2 separate regions of the Homo sapiens genome follow, and region 1 is linked to region 2. The links are contacts of gene promoters, found by promoter capture Hi-C in human tissues and cell types (Jung and others, 2019). All regions are on one chromosome and are shown on one strand. Each heading gives the region's core, a stretch centred on a gene start or on the middle of the fragment in contact. The rest is flanking DNA. Distances are from core to core; before and after follow the strand shown.

What was found. Contacts are between HindIII fragments. The study calls those that stand out against the background at their distance.
Region 1: the fragment with the promoter of CCK here is called in contact with a fragment that was not itself captured in region 2 in 1 of the 25 tissues and cell types used here (thymus).

Annotation. Positions count from the first base shown.
Region 1 is chr3:42,264,467-42,268,383 of GRCh38, reverse strand. It overlaps CCK (cholecystokinin), which reads left to right and starts at 2,199. Exons shown (of 5, transcript NM_000729.6): 1 at 2,199-2,700; 2 at 2,947-3,115; 3 at 3,477-3,687. The HindIII fragment of the contact is 4,994 bases long and covers 1-3,848 here.
Region 2 is chr3:42,551,918-42,555,685 of GRCh38, reverse strand. SEC22C (SEC22 homolog C, vesicle trafficking protein) reads left to right here. Exons shown (of 7, transcript NM_032970.4): 7 at 2,238-3,768. The coding sequence ends at 2,438. Among named protein-coding and RNA genes, the nearest start is that of VIPR1-AS1, 21 kb to the right of the region's middle. The HindIII fragment of the contact is 7,415 bases long and covers 1-3,768 here.

The sequences.
Region 1 (3,917 bases), core at 950-3,449, 290 kb after region 2:
TTTCCTGCTCAGAATTTCCACTCCTGAGAGACAAGCGGCTACAACTGCTTTATTTTACAATAAAGAGGCAAGCAGCTCTCTTGATCGTAAATGAGAAAGGCCCATGCACAAGCCCTTCTTCAGCTTCTGATGGTCCCTGTCACCTCTGGCTCTGCACTGGCATTTCCACGCTGGCCTCCTTGGCCCACTTGTCTGGTTCTGTACCAGCTCTTTTTCCTCCACCCACTCCTTCACGCTGTCACTCCTCAGCGGTCTGTCTAGAGGCACCCTGCCACCCATTGCTAGCTGCCTTCCTCAACTCTCCCTATAACTCCCAGGCTGGCAGCCACCACCCACATGCCAGACTCTGGGTCCACCCCTCCAGTGTCTCTCTGCTCAGGACAAAGGCTCCCAAACTCCTCCTAGACTGTCAATGCACAAACGATCAACCAATCCCATACTGGACTCATTACCCGCTCCCCACTGGCCCACTACCACCACGGCCACACTCCAAGCCTGCTTTTCCTTCTGAATTCCCTGTCTTGGATAATACTCTACCACCCACCCTTGTCTCCCAGCCTGGAAACTCAAGGTCAGTCTCAGTCACCAAGTCCGGTTCCCTCTACCAGTTTCCTGAGCAGCAACAGGTTGTTCCCTGGGAGGCTGGAATTTTTCTTCTTTTCTCTACTTTTGTTTTCTGAATGTTCTCTGATGAACACTTATGACTTGCATAATGTTTATTATGTTTCCTAATAATTAATGGGTTTCATAATGGCTTATTATTCTAAAACAAATCTACCTTGATTGTTCCTGCTTGCCCATCCCCGAGGGCCTCCTATCCAGCCCTCCCCTTCCAGTCCCTCTGCCTTTTGGGCATCTTCCATATTACCACCTAGCTCCCCTCACCAAAACATTTCTCCAAGATTACCTCCTACCATCTCCACTCCATAGTCCCCAAATATCAGAATTGTTGAGAAGTGTTTGTCCACTTGTTTGCTTCAGCTCCCCTATTGTATTGTCAGCTCTTGTTCATACTGAATCCCTGGGGCCTGGCACAAAGTAAGTGTTGAATAAACATGAATTAAATGGATCAAGGCCAGGAGTTGAGTAACTGGTATAAGGTAGGGAATTTCTATAGAAATGATCTCAAAGTGTGCTTGGCGGACTAGCATTTTCAGTATGGCCTGGGAACTTGTTAGAAATGTAGATTCTTGGTGGGGCGTGGTGGCTCACGCCTGTAGTCCCAGCATTTTGGGAGGCCAAGGTGGGTAGATCACCTGAGGTCAGAAGTTCGAGACCAACCTAGCCAACATGGTGAACCCTTGTCTCTACTAAAAATATAAAAATTAGCCAGGCATGGCTGCACATGCCTGTAATCCCAGCCGCTGGGGAGGCTGAGGCAGGAGAATCGTTTGAACCTGGGAGGCAGAGGTTGCAGTGAGCCGAGATCATGCCACTGTACTCCAGCCTGGGCGACAGAGTGAGACTCTGTCTCAAAGAAGGAAAGGCAAGGAAAGGAAGGAAGGAAGGAAGGAAGGAAGGAAGGAAGGAAGGAAGGAAGGAAGGAAATGAAGAAAGAAAGAAAGAAATAAAGAAGAAAGAAAGAAAGAGAGAGAGAAAGAGGGAAAGAGGGAGAAGGAGAGACGGAGGGAGGGAGGGGGGAAGGAAGGAAGGAAGGAGGGAGGGAAGGAAGGAAGGAAGGAAGGAAGGAAGGAAGGAAGGAAGGGAGAGAGGGAAAGAGGGAAGGGGAGAGAGGGAGGGAAGGAGGGAGGAAGGGAGGGAGGGAGGGAGGAAGGAAGGGAGGGAGGGAGGGAAGGAGGGAAGGAGGAAGAAAGGAAGGAAGGAAGGAAGGAAGGAAGGAAGGAAGGAAGGAAGGAATTCGGATTCTTGGGCCCTTCCTCAGACCTACTGAATTAGAAGCTCTGGGGGTATTTCGATAACAAGTTTATGTTTCCAGACATGTCTTGCCACAATCACAAATAAGACTCTTTTTCGCAACTGAACTACACAAACCTTAGCAGGCTCGTGGCGAAACCACTGGAAAGCATTTAATCAGCTTCAGCTCTTTCAAACATGTTGCCCATAGGTTGCAGAAACGCAGCTGCCTCTCAGGATTAGAAAGTGGAGCAGCAACCGGAGGCGTCTCTGGGCCGCCCCCCCAACCCCCCCACCCCGCCTCGCCCACTCCACCCTCACACTGGCGTTGCCACAGTCCCTCCATTCCAGAGGGAATTCCAGAGCGGAATACGGATTCCGATTTTAAAATAAGCGCTTCTAAATCTTTCTCCTTGCATCTAAGACGGGTGGGGGAAAGAAAGGGAGAGGAGTTGAGGTCCCAAGGTTCAAGGCCTGGTGATCTCCAGGTCCCAGGCTGGGCGGCCTCGGTGCACGGAGAGGGCGAGGGGCGTGTTGTGGAGCCTTGGCAAGGCGCTGCTCTTCCTCGCGCCTCGGTTTGCGGTCTGTGAAATGGGGTTGGCAGTGCCTTTGCAGGGACGCGGCGAACTCAAGCACCAGCAAGCGGACTCGAACTCAAAGGGTTTCAGGGTGTAGACGACCAGAGCGCACTGAGGGGCTCCAGGTCGGCCCGCTCCGGAGCCGGGAGAGTAACCGCGTGCAGGGAAAGGCGCACGGCAGCCTCGGTGCCTCCCTTCCCTCCACCGGACGGGTGACTGACTAGGGGTGAGGTCCTCACCTCCAGGCTGCGCAGCTGAGTTCTGGAAGGTACTGTCCTGGGGGTGTGAGTGTGTGGGCCCTCAGGAAAGGTGCGAGGGGCGGATGCCGTGGTCTACCCGAGCTTGCGGGGGTGCGGTGGTCAAGTTCCCCAGGACCCTCGCTGGCGCCGCTTGTCGACAACGGGGAACAGTGGGCGCCGCGGGTGGTGGTAACTTGGCCCGGGAAGAAAACACATCCCTTTCCCAAACCGGATTCCTCTGAGCAAAACCAGATGGTGTCATCCGCATTTTACAGCTGCGTCAAGAGAGGCCCAGGACACCAAGAGCCAGCTGTGGCCAGAGCCCTTTCACTGACCCAGAACACTGGCCCTCGGAAACCTGGAGAACTGCGAGGGCTTTTAATGCGGCTGAGAAGAAAGTGAAGACCCCGACTCCTCCTCTCTCCTTCGAAAGAGCCGACACAGGTATGAAGACCAGCGCCTCGGACGCTCCGGGGTAGGGGGCCGACGCCCCCTCCCTTTCAGAATCACGCCTTGCTGATGCTCAGTCCTGCCCAGTGTCCACCCCCCACCCCCGCCCCCAGTTTCCTTTCTAGCCCCTCCGGTCCCCAAAGCGAACTAAGCTAGCGGCAGCTTCTCCATCCCGGAGGAGACTCCAAACTCCTAGGTTTCCCACCTTGGAGAGTACTGCTCTGGAATGCGCAGGGGAGCGGCACCTGGAAAGGGTTGGGCGGAAGCTTCTCGGACCCAGAGGGGGCGGACACCCGGCACCGCGCGTGGGAGGGATTAACTCCACCCCACTAGACCACCTCCCCCTCTCTCCCAGGAGCCACTTCAACCGGTTGTCGCCCCAGTGGCCGCCCTCTGAGCACGTGTTACTGCCAGTCTGCGTCAGCGTTGGGTAAATACATGACTGGCCGACGCCGCCGGGTGGGGCTATTTAAGAGACAGCCGCCCGCTGGTCCTCCCTGAACTTGGCTCAGCTGCCGGGCTGCTCCGGTTGGAAACGCCAAGCCAGCTGCGTCCTAATCCAAAAGGTAGGTCCCTCGGTTCGTCAGCGGGGGATCCAAGTGTCGTGTGTCTTTGAAGGATGCTGTCTTCAGCTTTGTGCCCATTTCCATTATGCTTTTCTATTTTCTGTGTCTTCCCTCCGAGAGCTCGAAAGACATTTCTTGAAGTCAGAAATAACGGCTCTGGGTCTAAAAGTGAGGTCTGGGTGGGTAGAGCTGCTTTAGAGCCTTTCATACGCCAGCATCATTAAGGGATG
Region 2 (3,768 bases), core at 1,080-3,579:
CAGCAGCAGAACAGAAACCAGCAGTTTGGATTTGACTTCCCAGAAGGGAGGGATGAGATTACATAGGGATTGGATTAGGCCTGACTAGTGAGTGGCAAGATATTGCCTTGTGCTTATTATTAGGACAGTCCAAGCACAGAAATGTCCTTCTATAAAAGTAGCATCTGTGTACATGTAGTTTTTAAAATATAGGTCTAGGCAGGCATTGTGGCTCACACCTGTAATCCCAGTACTTTTCAAGGCCAAGGTGGGAGGATCACTTTAGGCCTGGAGTTTGAGACCAACCAGGGCAACATAGCAAGACCCCATCTCTGAACTTTTTTTTTCTTTTTTTTTTTTGAGACGGAGTCTTGCACTGTTGCCCAGGCTGGAGTGCAGTGGCACAATCTTGGCTCACTGCAAGCTCTGCCTCCCGGGTTCACGCCATTCTCCTGCCTCAGCCTCCTAAGTAGCTGGGACTGTAGGTGCCCACCACCACACCTGGCTAATTTTTTTTGTACTTTTAGTAGAGACGGGGTTTCACCATGTTAGCCAGGATGGTCTCGATCTCCTGACCTTGTGATCCACCCGCCTCGGCCGCCCAAAGTGCTGGGATTACAGGCATGAGCCACCACGCCCGACCTCTGCAAAAAATTTTTTAAAAAATATATACATATATAAGACTAGGTCAAAGAACTGCTGATTTTTTTGTTGTTGTTGTTGTTGTTGTTTTAAATAGTAATACCTTCTGACTCAGACCTGTTCTTTAGGAACTGAAGCAAACATTAGAACATTAACTAGAGGGTTTTGATTAGTTATTTTCATATAAGCTGTGTACTAAGGGGTGGCATAAAGAGGCGATTTTGAGTCCCTCATAGGCAGAGTTAATTCTAGTGAAAGCGTGGCTCTAATTCTCCTTCCTTGTCCTCCGTATGGACTAGGATTTTAGCACTGTCTCTGAATACATATTTTTTCTCCCTTTTTTTAAAATTAAAATTTCTGTTCTTAGGACGCTTTCCTTCTCTTCCACATACATCCTAGAATGGTTTATTCTTAAGAATTACCCAGGCCAGGTGTGGTGACTCATGCCTGTAATCCTAGCACTTTGGGAGGCCAAGATGTGTGGATCACTTGAGGCCAGGAGTTCAAGACCAGCCTAGGGAACCCCATCTCTATTATAATAAAAATACAAAAATCAGCTGATTATGGTGGTGCATACCTGTAGTCCCAGCTACTTGGGAGGCTTAGGCATGAGAATTGCTTGAACCCTGGAGGTGGAGGTTGCGGTGAGCTGAGATCACGCCACTGTGTTCCAGCCTGGGCAACAGAGAAAGACATTGCCTAAAAAAAATGAAAAAGCATTACCTGATTATGCAAAAAGAAATTTTCAACCCATGAAAATGCATTCATTTTTTAGAAAACAAGTCTCCAAGACCTTGGACATAGCCAGTGGCAGTTTCCTAGAGCTATGTTTTAGGACTGCAGGGATTGTACAGTTCCACCTCATTCCTTCAACTGTGTTCCTGGTTGGATAGCTCACTCCCTCCCTCTGTAGATTGAACCTTTGTCAGATTGATCCATGTTCAGTGATGTCCTTTTTTTAAAAAAAAAAAACAAAGCATTGAACCAAAATGCCGTTTCCACCTTTTGCAGAACAAGAATGGCCCCTTTTATGTGTGATAGTCATACACAAAATACCAGTCACTCTCCCTGCTGTGAGACCTTTCCCTGACTCAGAGATGCTTTGGAAGACATGATAAGGAGGGTGCCCAAGGGAAGAGTGGTGCTCAATGTAGTCGTGGCTCAGGAGAAACCAAAATAGTAAAAGCATGGCTTTCTCTCACCAGCTTGCTTGCCTGTCCTGGCTCCCTGAAGAAAAACTTCACTGGGGGGCCAGTCAGTCACGTTAGGGTCCCCTGTCTGCAGCCTGGCTGTCTGCAGCTTATGTGCAGCTCTTCTTTCTCTACTGCCAACAGCCTGGTCATTTCTGTCTATTTCTTTAACTTCTTTCAGATGTGCCATGCACTGATTCTTCCTGTGACATCTATTTCACTTTCCTTTAATCTTCCAAATCCTCACTTTCGTCCAATAATTAGCAGCCTAACCAGTGGGTCCACGCTTTACTGTAATGAATTCAGTTTAATCAGCTAATGTGAGAGAAATGACACTCTTCATGGAAGCTGTGGGAGGTGAATTTTGCATATGATCTAGTGGCCATTTTATCTCTGATTGGAATTCCTCTTCTGGTCTCATTTCAGTGTTATTTGTACCTGTTCTACAGTCCAGCCAGGACTATGAAGGTGGTGCTTATGCTGCTCTTTATTTGCCTGGGCAACATGTACCTGCACGGGCTGAGGAACCTCTGGCAAATCCTTTTCCACATAGGAGTGGCTTTTCTGTCTTCATATCAGATACTAACAAGGCAGCTTCAGGAGAAGCAGTCTGACTGTGGAGTATGAGGATGACACTGTGATGAATGGATTCTTTGATTTTCTTTTGAGGATCAATCTATGTTTCTCTTTCTGCTTCTCTACTTTACACTCCAGTTTCCATCCTTTTCAGCCAACTGGACTGAAAAACCAGGAATTGGGGATGTTAAACAGTTGCAGTGGAAGTCATGAGGTTGCTTGATACCCAGCCTTGGTTCTGTGCCAAGCATTACTGCAGGATCTCCAGCCAGTTCAGCACGTTTACCTAGGACAGCTGGATCTGGGGGCTCATCCAGAAAGAGCTTTATTGGAAGAGAGAAAGGAAATATTTTGGTCTTTTAAGTTGAATGATACAGTAAACCACTTGATTCAATAACACTGGTTTTAGTCATTGAGAGTTGTCTCCAAGGAACCACTTTAAAATCCAAATCAGCTTTCAGTCTAAACATAACTTGATTAGTTTTTTTTTTCAGAGGGTCAGTACAGGATGAATTAAAAACCTAAAAATATGGTTCATAAATGTAAGCTAGATAAATTTTGTTTACATTTTTTCAATATCTTAGGTTCGATATACCTTTGGAATATTTAATTATATTTTGGATATAAATTGGACTTCATTTAGGGTGAGGGCAAACTTAAGCTGAGAAAATGGTTAAGAAATCTGAGTTTATTTAATTTATATGTAACCTTTTATAGTGGTGGGACTGTTTGGGTACAGAGATGTTTTATATTTATTTGCAGGGTATATCCGAATATTTTAAAAATTAATTGAATAACCAGTACTTCTAGATGATAAGTTTGTCAGCATGAGCAGAAATGAGAATTTCAGGATTACTTACAATTGACCACAACCTGGAGTAGGTGAATGAACATGGATTCAGTGGCACTTTACAGATCCGCTTGGGAGGGGCTGCTGTCATCAGCCTTTTCAGTAGAGCTGAGTGCCTGTTGTTTTAATGATGATGACTACTGTACCCTGTGTACCTGTTCCCAGAGCGCCTCCAAAATTAATTACTCCTCTGCACCTTTCCCAGTCATCTTAATTAGCTTGAGGGCCTCATTTTTTATGAACAAGAGTTAAGTATCTGTTAACTTTTTAAAGCTTGATAGAGATATAATTAACACATACTCTGGAAAGTTACTCTCTTTCACTGTCAAAAAATTGATTGATCACAGTTTTCCAAAATATGGTTCTGGATAAGATCCCTTAGGTTTCCCGAAATTTCAGCCTGGCTTGTTTTGTACCACGCAGGAGGTCATTTTGGGAGTTTGCTCTTTGGATTGTTCTTGGTAGAAGTCTGGAATCTGAATAGTTCAACCACAGTTGCATGGAACACTTTGAGTGTTCAACTGCATTATG